Linked DNA regions of Homo sapiens: all the other regions are linked to region 1. Evidence: promoter capture Hi-C in 16 types of primary human blood cells and fetal thymus (Javierre and others, 2016). All regions are on one chromosome and are shown on one strand. Each heading gives the region's core, a stretch centred on a gene start or on the middle of the fragment in contact. The rest is flanking DNA. Distances are from core to core; before and after follow the strand shown. Region 1 holds the start of ZKSCAN1 (zinc finger with KRAB and SCAN domains 1). Region 2 overlaps ZKSCAN5 (zinc finger with KRAB and SCAN domains 5). Region 3 overlaps FAM200A (family with sequence similarity 200 member A). Region 4 overlaps ZSCAN25 (zinc finger and SCAN domain containing 25). Region 5 overlaps STAG3L5P-PVRIG2P-PILRB (STAG3L5P-PVRIG2P-PILRB readthrough).

The links. Contacts are between HindIII fragments. The CHiCAGO score rates a contact against its expected background, and 5 or more counts as called.
Region 2: a fragment that was not itself captured here is called in contact with the fragment with the promoter of ZKSCAN1 in region 1 in 3 of 17 cell types (erythroblasts, M2 macrophages and M1 macrophages); the score reaches 6.1 in erythroblasts.
Region 3: a fragment that was not itself captured here is called in contact with the fragment with the promoter of ZKSCAN1 in region 1 in 2 of 17 cell types (M2 macrophages and erythroblasts); the score reaches 5.6 in M2 macrophages.
Region 4: a fragment that was not itself captured here is called in contact with the fragment with the promoter of ZKSCAN1 in region 1 in 3 of 17 cell types (M1 macrophages, erythroblasts and megakaryocytes); the score reaches 5.9 in M1 macrophages.
Region 5: a fragment that was not itself captured here is called in contact with the fragment with the promoter of ZKSCAN1 in region 1 in 1 of 17 cell types (non-activated CD4 T cells); the score reaches 5.3 in non-activated CD4 T cells.

Annotation. Positions count from the first base shown.
Region 1 is chr7:100,014,248-100,016,881 of GRCh38, reverse strand. ZKSCAN1 (zinc finger with KRAB and SCAN domains 1) reads right to left here and starts at 1,286. Exons shown (of 6, transcript NM_003439.4): 1 at 1,156-1,286. RefSeq lists a silencer at 1,031-1,200. The HindIII fragment of the contact is 19,683 bases long and covers 1-2,634 here.
Region 2 is chr7:99,523,144-99,525,777 of GRCh38, reverse strand. All of the region lies in intron 5 of ZKSCAN5 (zinc finger with KRAB and SCAN domains 5), which reads right to left. Among named protein-coding and RNA genes, the nearest start is that of ZKSCAN5, 20 kb to the right of the region's middle. The HindIII fragment of the contact is 5,817 bases long and covers 1-2,634 here.
Region 3 is chr7:99,548,013-99,550,646 of GRCh38, reverse strand. FAM200A (family with sequence similarity 200 member A) reads left to right here. Exons shown (of 2, transcript NM_145111.4): 2 at 2,141-2,634. The coding sequence starts at 2,240. Among named protein-coding and RNA genes, the nearest start is that of FAM200A, 2.8 kb to the left of the region's middle. The HindIII fragment of the contact is 3,322 bases long and covers 1-2,634 here.
Region 4 is chr7:99,630,456-99,633,089 of GRCh38, reverse strand. ZSCAN25 (zinc finger and SCAN domain containing 25) reads right to left here. Exons shown (of 8, transcript NM_145115.3): 8 at 682-2,634. Among named protein-coding and RNA genes, the nearest start is that of ZSCAN25, 15 kb to the right of the region's middle. RefSeq lists an enhancer at 2,607-2,634. The HindIII fragment of the contact is 710 bases long and covers 972-1,681 here.
Region 5 is chr7:100,346,495-100,349,128 of GRCh38, reverse strand. All of the region lies in intron 4 of STAG3L5P-PVRIG2P-PILRB (STAG3L5P-PVRIG2P-PILRB readthrough), which reads right to left. Among named protein-coding and RNA genes, the nearest start is that of MIR6840, 8.8 kb to the left of the region's middle. The HindIII fragment of the contact is 213 bases long and covers 1,218-1,430 here.

The DNA.
Region 1 (2,634 bases), core at 37-2,536:
CGATTTCTCCACATTTGTTCAGCATATATACTAACAGTGCTTTGCTGATGTGGTTACAATGAATTCTCCACAATTCAATTCAACAAGTATTTATTGACCGCCTCCAATCCGCCTAGCACTGGCCCGTACAATAAATGCTTTCTTTGGTCCCAGGCCATGGAACAGCCACTCTCTATAATGAAAGTATCTTACTGTGTACAGGGGGCACTGCAGGAAAGGGAGGGGAGGGATGGAGGAGTGTCAAGCTAAACTGTAGTTAATTCTTCAATTACATTGACCAAATCATTTCGAAGTCGGAAGGGCCTTTTGAGAAAATCCAGTTAGTTTTTATTGATGACGAAATTAAGACTTGGTGAGTGTCTCGTCTTATCCAAGGTCACTCAGCTAATCAGTCTCCTAGTGACACAGTGCAATTTCCACAAATTCCCTTCACTTCTCACCCCACTCCATGTCAAACAGAGCAACTATCCAGAATTGAAAAATCCACCTAACGTCCCGGACAGCTCTTTTCCAAAGCCTTCAAAGCATTCCATCAAGCTGAAAGAGTGGGGTGTATATAATCTCTACTAGATCCCAATCACCTATTTATCCACTATGACTAGGCTTCAAATACTCTTTAATCACCGCTCAGTGATGAGGGTGGGAGAAGGAAAGGCAGGTCTGGAAACGTATGCGGCACCTCAAAATGTGTCCATCTCTCATCCTTCCGCTCATTTCACCTCGAGGTCCCGAAGGAACCGGGGGGGGAAAAAGACACCTCACCGGAATCAAAGCAAATGGCGACTAAGGGAGAGCAGAAAAATCAAGACCGGGGTCGGTTCGCTCGCGACCCCGTTTGCAGAAACGTCAAAGGGCGATGACGACACTGCGGGAGAGGGGCCCACAGACGGCTTCTCCCCGGGTCTCCGGGCACCCTCAGCCACTGAAACCCTCGCCCCCTCCCCGCCTGATCCTGGGGGTGGGGCGGGGACGTCTCCCAGGAAGAACGGCGCTTTCTACGGCCGGGCCCGGCCAGGAGGCAGGGGCATGGACTCTCTTCGCACAACAGCGGGGCCGCCTGGAGGGGGTCCCAGGGCCGCAGCTGCGGAGCCCACCCTCGCGCACACACCCTTGCGGCCCCGCCCTCCCACCCCAGAGGCCGGCCCCAAGTCTCACCGTGAGCCCCGGGAGCGGCCTGGGGGCGCTGGGCGAGAAAGGGGAGCTGACTCTGGGGCTCAGGCCGGCCGAAGGGCACCGCACACGGACTTAGGCCCTCCCGACGCCTCGACACAGACACAATGAGTCACAAAGGCCGGAAGCGTGTCACCACCTCGTCTTCCGGGACCGCGCCGCGCTTCCGGGTCCTCTCTAGGAGCGCGGGAGGACTTTGCATCTCGGTTTCCGAATCGCTGGACCAGGCGCCTGCCCTTGAGTTTTCAAGCCTCCAGCTTGGAGGATCAGGTCCCAGTCCGCCCCTAGTTAATGCAGGGACTAACGGGAGCAGGTGGTGGGGGGTTTCAGGCTTTCCCCTACTCAAACTCAAACAGACTCTCCAGCTCAGACACCAGTCCATGTGAAAGTTCGATTTCACCTGTCTTTTTCATCTCAGGCAGTCCTTGTAGTAATTATAGTTATTATCAAGCAATATAGTACTTGGTAATTGTATGTCTGTGGCAAAGGAACTGAAACAAGGATGTAGACTGAGGAAGATCAAAGTGAAGCCAAGGGTGGCTGGTTTCCCAAAGCTGCCACGGTAGCTTCTCTCAGGGCCCTGGAGCTATATGGAGTGGTATTTTCAAATACTTGGCCCGTGGACAAGGGATGTCTTTCCACAAGCAAGCATAGTTATAAGGTTCTGTGCTTTGCTCATGTGGCATATGCTATTATAGCCGTTTAAAAGGAGTTTTCAGAGTAACAACAGACACTTTTACCTTCAAAGTGCTTTCACAACCTACCACAGTTACAGCCTTCATCTTTGCCTTGCAGGGTAAGGCACGCATAAGAGGGGGCCACGTTGTGCAAGGGTGGGGGGGACTACAGGCTTTAATGGTTGTGACTTTCCACTATGTTCCGAGACAAGTTCATGGGAGAAACTCAGTAGCTTGGTTGCATGACTCTTACTGCTTGGAGAGATTTACTTTTTTTTTTTAGATGGAGTCTCGCTCTGTCACCCAGCCTGCAGTGCAGTGGCACCATCTTGGCTCACTGCAACCTCCACCTCCCAGGTTCAAGCGATTCTCCTGCCTTAGCCTCCTGAGTACCTGGGACTACAGGCGCACACCACCATGCCTGGTTAATTTTTGTATTTTTGGTAGAGAACAGGGTTTCACCATATTGGCCAGGATGGTCTCGATCTACTGACCTTGTGATCCACCCGCCTCAGCCTCCCAAAGTGCTGGAATTACAGGCGTGAGCCACCGTGCCCGGCCAGATTTACTTTTTAAAAAATGTTTGAAAACTAAAAAGCAATGACAGGGCCAGACACGATGACTCAAGCCTGTAATCTTAGCACTTCGGGAGGCTGGGACGGGAGGATTCTTGAGCCCAAGAGTTGGAGACCAGCCTAAGCAACGTAATGAGACCCTCTCTCTACAAAAAATACTAAAATTAGCTGGGTGCAGGGTAGTGTGTGCCAGTGGTCCCAGCTGCTTGGGA
Region 2 (2,634 bases), core at 54-2,553, 490 kb after region 1:
TTCCTTGAATTTGAAGAAATAAAATGAGGGGATAATGAAGAGAAACTGACATGTGCTAGGGATCCATGATTCTGTAAAGGGACTTTTACAGTACAGGGATGGGATGAAAAATATTCAAGCAGAAAAGTGAGGGAGGTTAGGGAAGGAAGAGCTGGCAAAAAATGTTCAGAGGAAGGAGACTGAAAATCAGTCATTCCACTGAACGAAGAGGGTCTCCTCTCAGTGTGGCACTTACAAATACCTGTATCATGTTAAATGTTCTCTTGTGTGTGTGTGTGTGCGCGCGCGCGTGTATGTGTGTGTTTTGAGACAGGGTCTCACTCTGTCACCCAGGCTGGAGTGCAGTGGGGCAATCATGGCTCACTGCATCCTCAACCTCTTGGGCTCAAGCGATCCTCCCACCTCAGCCTCCCAAGTAGCTAGGACTACAGTTGCACACCACCATGCTCAGCTAATTTTTATATTTTTGTAGAGATGAGGGTCTCATTATGTTGCCCATGCTGGTTTCAAACTCCTGAGCTCAAGTGATCCTCCCACCTCAGCTTCCCAAAGTGCTGGGATTACAGACGTGAGCCAACGCGACTGGGCAATATTCTTTTTTTTTTTTCTTTTGAGACGGAGTCTCACTCTGCCACCCAGGCTGGAGTGCAGTGGCGCGATCTCGGCTGACTGCAACCTCTGCCTCCCGGGTTCAAGTGATTCTTCTGCCTCAGCCTCCCAAGTCACTGGGACTACAGGCGCACATCACCACGCCCAGCTAATTTTTGTAATTTTAGCAGAGACAGGGTGTCACCATATTGGCCAGGTGGTCTCGAACTCCTGACCTAGTGATCTGCCCGCCTCGGCCTCCCAAAGTGCTGGGATTACAGACATGAGCCACCGCGCCCAGTCACGACTGGGCAATATTCTTAATAAAACTGGATAGCAGGTTATGCAGCTAACCCCATCTTCACCTTCCTCTTCCTGTGAATTCATAGCCTAGAAAAGAAAGGTGATCTTTCTAGGTTTCTCAATGCCCAAAGGATTTCAGTTTGGTATGAATTAATCTAAAAGAAAAAAGACATTCTTTCTATATCCTGAGAAGAACCTACTACTTTCAAGAGCTAGGTTAATGTTCAGCAGTCACTGATAGAACCGTGGATGTTTCAGTGGCTATAATTAGTTCCTTTGTTCAACTGTATCAGCAAGATACTTTACTCAAAACACTGATGTTTTAATATGGTTTGCAGAGACAAATCTTCAGTAGTTAACAAAAAATAGAGTATTGGCCAGGCACAGTGGCTCATGCCTGTAATCCCAGCACTTTGGGAAGCCAAGGCGGGCGGTTCACTTGAGGCCAGGAGTTCGAGACCAGCCTGACCAACACAGCGAAACCCCGTCTCTACAAAAAATACAAAAATTATCAGCCGGGTGTGGTGGCTCACGCCTGTAATCCCAGCACTGTGGGAGGTCGAGGTAGGCGGATCACTTGAGGTCAGGAGTTTGAAACCAGCCTGGCCAACATGATGAAAACCTGTCTCTACTAAAAATACGAAAAAAATTAGCCAGGCGTCGTGGCACACACCTGTAATCCCAGCTACTCAGGAGGCTGAGGCACGAGAATCGCTTGAACCCAGGAGGCAGAGGTTGCAGTGAGTTGAGATCACACCACTGCACTCCAGTCTGGGTGACAGAGCGAGACTCTGTCCCAAAAAAAAAAAAAAAAACCCAGGGAGTATCATGGCCTATTAAGAATGTCCCAAGATGTTTTCATGAGGAGAGTTTTCTGTATTATATTAGTAATAAGAGCTAAACATTTGCTGAGTGCTATGAGTCCAGCACTACACTAAGTACTTTACAATTTTATGGTATATTTAATCCTTACAATGACCTTTAAGGGAGCTACCATAATCCTTTTTTGATATAGTCAGAAGTTATAATTCCTAAACTATGAAGACAATTTTAATTTTAATTTACCATATAGCTACTTTTACTTACCTTCCTAAAAAGACACTGAAACAGTAAAAACAGGGATATAAACAAAAAACCCTATCACAAAACCAGACTTTTTATGTTTTTTCCTCCCTCATTTAACTATGCAGCTAATCCCAGCTACCATAGTATTTTTTTTCTCTTTTATTCATATCTACTGGTCTCACACATTGATTGATTGATTGATTGATTGATTGATTTGAGACTGGGTCTTGCTCTGTCACCCAGGCTGGAACACAGCAGCACAATCACAGCTTACTGTTACTTCTAACTCCCTGGTTGAAGCGATCCTCCCACCTCAGCCTCTACAGGCATGCACCACCACGCCTAGCTAATTTTTGTATATTTTGTAAGGGTTTGTCTCACTATGTTGCCCAGGCTGGTCTCGAACTCCTGGCCTCAAGTGATCCTCCTTCCTTGGCCTCCCAAAGTGCTGAGATTACAGGCATGAGTTCCTGCGTTCAGCAGGCAGCCTACTCACTTCCTCCTCCCCTTGTCTCTCAGTGGAGACATGTCTCTCGAGCCAAGGTCAGTCCTTCCTCCTTCCTGTACCCCAGATCTCACCATACCTTCCTGCTTTCCAGGGATCTCCCAACATCAGCTAACTGCCCCTCCATTTTTTTTTTTTTTTTTTTTTTTTTTTGAGATAGGGTCTCACATTGT
Region 3 (2,634 bases), core at 70-2,569, 470 kb after region 1:
ATGTTCTTGGATGAAACACATAGACCCACCAAGTCTCAAATGTGTCCTAAGTAAAGTAAAATAGATTATCTCAAGGTCTCTTCCAATTTTGGAATCTGCCGATAGACTGAATTTAACATTCAGCTAAGCAAAACCTATGGCCCCACATTCATTTCCATTTGTGCCACCAACATACAGAAAGTTACTTGCATTATTGAGAGAGGCTAAGTGACACAGTACCAAAGAAAAGGGGTTCGTTGGCCAGGTGCTGTGGCTCAGGCTTGTAATCCCAGCACTTTGGGAGGCCGAGGTGGGTGGATCACGAGGTCAGGAGTTTGAGACTAGCCTGGCCAACACAGTGAAACCCCGTATCTACTAAAAAGACAAAAATTAGCTGGGCCTGGTGTTGGGCGCCTATAATCCCAGCTACTCGGGAGGCTGAGGCGGAAGAATCACTTGAACCCTGGAGGCGGAGGTTGCAGTGAGCTGAGATCGTGCCACTGCAGTCCAGCCTCAGCAACAGAGCTAGACTCCGTCTCAAAAAAAAAAGGGGGGGGTTCATTTAGTAAAGTCAGGTAATAACTTTTTTTAAGTTTTTTTTTATTATTTACTTTTTTTTATTATACTTTAAGTTCTAGGGTACATGTGCACAATGTGCAGGTTAGTTACATATGTATACATGTGCCATGTTGGTGTGCTGCACCCGTTAACTCATCATTTACATTAGGTATATCTCCTAATGCTATCCCTCCCCACTTCCCCCACCCCATGACAGGCCCCACTGTGTGATGTTCCCCACCCTGTGTCCAAGTGTTCTCATTGTTCAGTTCCCACCTGTGAATGAGAACATGCAGTGTTTGGTTTTCTGTCCTTGCGATAGTTTGCTCAGAATGATGGTTTCCAACTTCATCCATGTCCCTACAAAGGACATAAACTCATCCTTTTTTATGGCTGCATAGTATTCCATGGTGTATATGTGCCACATTTTCTTAATCCAGTCTATCATTGATGGATGTTTGGGTTGGTTCCAAGTCTTTGCTATTGTGAATAGTGCCGCAATAAACATACATGTGCATGTGTCTTTATAGCAGCATGATTTATAATCCTTTGGGTATATACCCAGTAATGGGATGGCTGGGTCAAATGGTATTTCTAGTTCTAGATCTTTGAGGAATCGCCACACTGTCTTCCACAGTGGTTGAACTAGTTTACAGTCCCACCAACAACGTAAAAGTATTCCTATTTCTCCACATCCTCTCCGGCACCTGTTGTTTCCTAAGTCAGGTAATATCTTTAAATCCACTAAACTCACATGAATGGTGAAATATTGCAGTGTACTAAAAGCAAACAAACAAATGAGGGTGTTTTGTCAATCGCATGTGTTGTGGAAATCTCATTCTCCCTCCAGAATAATTCATGGATCTATGTAACATGAACATGTTTCAATATTCATAATACTGAATAATTATGCAGCTTAATTTCTTATTTTTAAGAAATACAAGTTCTCATTTTTTTCCCTATGCCCCAGTGGATCATCTTGTGTACCCTATGTACCCTACCTGATGGTTTTTTTTGTTTTTTGTTTTTTGTTTTTTTTTTTTGAGACAGCGTCTTGCTCAGTTGCCCAGGCGTGGTGGCACATGGCCTGTAATTCCAGCTACTTGGGAGGCAGAGGCAGGAGAATCACTTTAACCTGGGAAGTGGAGGTTGCAGTGAGCCGAGATCGTGCCCTTGCACTCCAGCCTGGGCAACAAGAGCGAAACTCCATCTCAAAAAAAAAAAAAAAAAAAAGAATGACCAGATCACTTTTTAGAGTTGGCAGTGTAGCAGCATATTTAGGACACTCGCTTCAGACTTGGATTTGAGTGCTGGTTCTATACTTACTGTGGGTTGTTAGACACATTTAATCTTTCTGAACTTTTATTTTTCATCTGTAATATAAGAATAGTAATTATGTGAACCTCATTAGGTTTCCCTGGGTATTAAATGAGTGGTGTATATAGTACACCAAATCTCCCTGACACACAGCCAACATGAATGACAGTTGCTCATCATTTACCATGTCACACCACTAGATTTAGTGAATTGTTTTGTATGAGTTGTTAGCCCAGCAATACCATGTTGCTTTTTAATACTGCTGTTACGTTTTTCTACCCTGCAGGATAGCAAAACCTGATCTCATAAAACCTAGGTCACAAAGGACAGCCCTGCAAAACAGACCCTATTTGGATCAAGTGAGCCAGTTCCTGGAACCTGAATAATGACTCCTGAATCAAGGGATACTACAGATTTGTCTCCAGGGGGTACCCAGGAGATGGAAGGCATCGTGATAGTGAAGGTGGAGGAGGAAGATGAAGAAGACCATTTTCAAAAGGAAAGAAACAAAGTAGAGTCATCGCCACAAGTTCTCAGTCGCTCTACAACTATGAATGAGAGAGCCTTATTGTCATCGTATTTAGTTGCATATAGAGTGGCAAAAGAGAAAATGGCTCACACAGCGGCTGAAAAAATTATCCTTCCAGCATGTATGGACATGGTACGGACAATTTTTGATGACAAATCAGCTGATAAACTAAGAACTATACCTCTTAGTGATAATACAATATCTCGTCGAATCTGTACGATTGCAAAACATTTGGAAGCAATGCTTATTAC
Region 4 (2,634 bases), core at 77-2,576, 380 kb after region 1:
CGCTTGAACCCGGGACAGGGAGGTTGCGGTGAGCTGAGACTGTGCCACTGCACTCCAGCCTGGGCAACAGAGCGAGACTCCAGCTCAAAAAAAAAAAAAACAACAGAAAATGCAGAATGTAAAAAACTCTCCAGGATAAATGATCGAGTTTTTTAAAATGAATAAATCTCAAGAAGAAAAGGATAAGTACTACAGATTATAAGCCTTAAGAGACAAAGCAACAAATTATATTATATTGAAAAATTAGGTGGGTTCTTAAAATTCACTGGATATTTTGACATTAAGGAACTGTTTTGTTTTGAGACAGGGTCTTGCTCTGTCTCCCAGGCTGGAGTGCAATGGCACAATCAGGGCTCACTGCAACCTCAACCTCTTGGGGTCAAGTGATGCCCAGCCTCAGCCTCCTGAATAGCTGGGACCACAGGCATGCACCACCCATGCCCAGTTAATATTTGTTTGTAGATGAGGTCTCACTATGTTGCTCAGGCTGGTCTCGAACTCCTCTCAAGCAATCCCACCTTGGCCTCCCAAAGTGGTGGGATCACAGGTGTAAGCCACCACACCCAGCCGCCCTTACCTTTTACAGGTACACACTGAAATGGTTATAAACAACACTTGGGATACACTTCGAAACTTCAGTGGGGGAGGAAGACGGGGAGGAAGGAGTGGACAGAGATGAAACAAGATTGATTATGAGTTTATAATAAAGTCAAATGATAAATACATAAGGATTTATTTATATAGGTTTGAAATTATCTATTATAAAAAAATTTCTAAAGAATAGAAAAATACAGAAAACAAAATATTTCTTAACATTTGAATAGATATGAAAAATCAGACTACCACAATCCCATGGGAAAAACCCCCTACTTAGAGGCTTTTCTGAGACACTGTCCTAAGCTCTTGGCCCCACAGGAGATAGGGAAGAGGCCAGATAGGAAAGTCAGCAAGGCCCAGCTCCTTCTGAAGCTTAAGATATGCCAACTTGCTGAAACCCAGAGGAATGCTGGCTGTGTATGACAAAAGAGCATCTGTGATTCAGGTAATGACAAGCAGCCCCCCGAGGCCTCCCCAGTCCCCACCTGCCTTTGGAAAACCACCCTCTGGGGAAGGCCACACTCAGGCCAGAAGCCTCCCACTGAGTCTGCCTGGCTGTCAGCCCTGCCTAGCTGCTCTGATAATTACGGGGGAAAAAAAGCTGATTTTGCATGTGGACCTCAGTATTACAGAGGAGCAGCAGCAGCCCCGTGTGGACATCTCAGATACATTTACGACCCAGTCAGTGCAGCCTCGTGGGCACAGCTAATGAGCCAGGAAGACCAAGGAGCGTCATTTGCTAAGCCAAAATTAGACACCATGCTGCCTAACAAGAACAGGTGATAAAACCACGTTTCAAAGTGGGCTGAGTAATACAGCTTTGTGTTAGTCATTACCATTTACCTTATTTACAATGGAAAATGAAAAAAAAAAATCTCAGTAAAAGAATCTGGTATTAAGAGGCATCAGAAGACAAACCACATTTTGCAATTATAGGACACTATCAACAAAGGACAAACTCACTCACTCAGCCAGGGTTCAAAGGCACAGCACAATGACACAGCAGTCAGTCCACGCTAGTTATGCAGCTTCCAGAACTTTAAACAGAAATGAAACCCTTAAGTGATGGCACAATAAGGAAGCTTCAACAGTTTACAAATATTGCATCTTCTCATTTTTAAAGAAATGTATTTTTTTTTAATGCCTACAAATATCTTTATTTTTCCTGACTTGGCACTCATGCAAAACAGGTCGCTACCAGCTCATCATCCCCAGTGGGTGTCCAGGACCCCTAGTGCCTTGGATGACAAGGGTCTGGAGGGCAGAGACCATTTAGTAACAAGAGGTAGGTGACAAATGCATTTCAGGGCAAGATGCTGACAAAGCAATGAATACAGGCCCAGAGGATTTGCAGGAATATCCACGGGTTCTGAAGATCAGGTACATCCACGAGACATAAGCTCTACGAGGTCAACAGCTTCTCCCCCTATTTTATTCATGGATGTGTCTCAAGCACCCAGAAGAGTTCCTGACATGTTTGTTACAGGGCCTCAATAAATACTTGGGAAATGGGTCCAATGAGAATGGGGTGAAATTAATTTTATGAACTATAAAGTGCCATCAAATATAGGGCATTAATACTAGAGTTCATCTTTCAGACTCATTTTAATTATAACAGTTCTTTCTAGAGAACTGTTTTTTAAAATACTCTGATGTTTATTCAGTGATCAATAGCAAAATACTAACTTCCTAATAGTTGGTGTGTTGACAGTTGTTATAGTGCAAGGAATAATGGACGGGGAAGTTTTACAGATGAGGATAGAATGTTATAGCCTGACACAGATGAGGCTCCAAATAATGTAAAATTCACACAGTTGCCTGGGAGCAGATCCCAGCTGGGGAGGGAAGATCCAGCACGGGGCAGGAGGGCAGGAGTGGTCATGGGAAGATGTTCTCACGGGCACACAGCACAGATACCCTGAGAATGCCTCGGGTCATGGGCTGTCGCATGCATCCCCAACGCACAACCCCCAGAGGCATCACGTCTAGTCTCTCATTCACCACGGCATTCCCACGGCCAGGTGCTCAGAGGATGTT
Region 5 (2,634 bases), core at 75-2,574, 330 kb before region 1:
TGGTGCAAAGTTGACTACCCACCATTTTCATTTTTTTTTTCAATTTTTTAAGTCACATTATCCCCTAAATTCTCATTGTGTAAGATTCAAACAACATAGAACACAAAGTTCTCCTTTGGCCAGCTCCTTCTGTTCCCCTCCCTGTTTGAATTCTCATGAGGCTTGATCTTTAACATTATCATTTCTGTTTGTGTATTCCTTAGGAAGGCTAAGATTATGAAAATATTTTTATGGCTTTGTTTTTATGCATAACTCTATAAAGAGTTTCTTCCTAGTCCATGAAGAACTTTACTTTGGAGGTGGTGTTAAAAAGGCTGTGTAGGCCGGGCATGGTGGCTCATGCCTGTAATCCCAACACTTTGGGAGGCCGAGGCAGGCAGATCATGAGGTTAGGAGATCGAGACTGTCCTGGCTAACACGATGAAACCCTGTCTCTACTAAAAATACGAAAAAAATTAGCTGGGTGTGGTGGCGGGCGCCTGTAGTCCCAGCTACTCAGGAGGCTGAGGCAGGAGAATGGCGTGAACCCGGGAGGCGGAGCTTGCGGTGAGCAGAGATCGCGCCACTGCACTCCAGCCTGGGTGACAGAGCGAGACTCTGTCTCAAAAAAAGAAAAAAAAAAAGGCTGTGTAGCTGGGTGCAGTGGCTCATGCCTGTAATCCCAGCACTTTGGGAGGCCGAGGCAGGTGGATCACTTGAGGTCAGGAGTTCGAGACCAACCTGACCAACATGGAGAAATCCCATCTCTACTAAATATACAAAATTAGCTGGGTGTGGTGGCGCATGCCTGTAATGCCACCTACTTGGGAGGCTGAGGCAGGAGAACCGCTTAAACCCAGGGGCGGAGGTTGTGGTGAGCCGAGATCCCACCATTGCACTCCAGCCTGGGCACAAGAGCAAAACTCCGTCTCAAAAAAAGAGCCGTGTAACGTCTCAGGTGGAGGGCCAGGATTCCCCAGACCATTTGCTGCTGGGCTCCTTCCCTACTGTTTCAAAATGCCACCTTGATCATAAATTCTTACACATAGGTCTATATGTGGATTCTCTTTCACAGTCTATCCACTGGGTTGCTTATTCTAGTTTCAATATCACAAGGTCCTAACTGGAATGCTTTCATGTTCTGATATATGTGAGGGCCCTTACTCTCACAACTTCTTGAGTATTCCTTAACATTCTCCAAAATTGTGAACAGCAGAGCCACAAATAATTCCTAAGCTTGGCAATCTAAGTCCTGCATCCCACTTTCAGCCAGGAGGTACAGGCAAGATGGGACAGGTTTCACAATGGCCACCTCCTGCCTGACATTCCTTGGTGAAATCCCTGCAGCCCCAGCCCAAGTCCTGCTGAAGTAAAAGAGCCCAGTGGTCAGTCTGTAGAATCAGGCCCTCATGGGTTTGAAATAGGGCCACAATTTCATAGCTCTGCAAGCTTAACAGAGCAATTTCCCAAAGCAGCAGGATCCCAACAGGGACTGCTCCACAGAGTAAATGAGAGGATCAAGTCAGTGAGTGCAGGGGCAGCACTCTACTCAGCCCTGGCTCGTGCCCCAGTACAGGCTGTGACCGTCCTGTGATATAAAACATTCCTCGAGTTTGGTTTCTTCTCACCAGGAATCAGGATTAGCTTTCTTTGTGGCTTGTGTGAAAGATGCGATGACACAAGTTCATCTCTATTACACCTTCCCAGGCAGATCAACTGTATGTCAATGTCCCCTCTTCAGGGGCGGCTGTCTTCCGTCCTAGCACTGCTTCCACTGGAAGAGTCTGAGCTCCTCATCCTAGCCTTGGTTCTGGGCAGCAAACAGCCCAGCCCTGAGCAGCCTCTGTTCTTCTGTAGGCCCATGGGGCCCACTGCAGACAGGAACCCAGGCAGCTGATTCAGATGGCCTCAATTCCTGGGGCCAAAACACAGGGTCCTGGAGGGCCTAGTCTCACCACAGAGAAAGGGAAATGACTATAAAAATCCAAAATATTTTTGACAGAGGACTAGAGGCCTCCTCCCTCCCCTAAATGCTTTGGCACTTGACACAACCTTAGGGAAAAGGAAGGAAGCCAAGAAGACTCAGGAGTTAAATTTTCTCAGCAGCTGGGCAGAAAAAGAGCTTGAAATCATAGAGGAAAAATAAAGTTGTTTCTGCTCTTCTGAGTTTGTAGCATAAGACTTGTCACTGCTGCATTTATTTTTACATGCATGTTTTAAATGTTGTGAAAAGGGCTGCTTTTGTTCCTCTGTAACTTTAATTATAGCTTATCCTTTATCACAGTAATACAGCTAATGCAAGATAGCGTCTTCAGTGGATACTATGTGCTAAACCCATTCTCAGTGATGCACGTACATCAGCTCCATACTTAGCAATTGCTTTATGTGGGAAATAACTTGCCCGGGGTGGAAGGGCTACTTACACAATGAAGCCAAAATTTAAACCCTGACAAAAATTTTCGCTTCAGAACCCATAATATTCAGCATTATGCGGAGCTGCCTTCTCCCACACCTTGGTTAAAAAATTAAATTGAATTACAAGACTGTGTCAGCAAACGGCAGTCCTTTGCCCTGGCAGTGCAGAAGCCAGGAGTTGAACCCGTGTCTCTCACCAGGTTAAGCTGCCTCGCTAAGTTTGGATGTGACCTCAGAAAC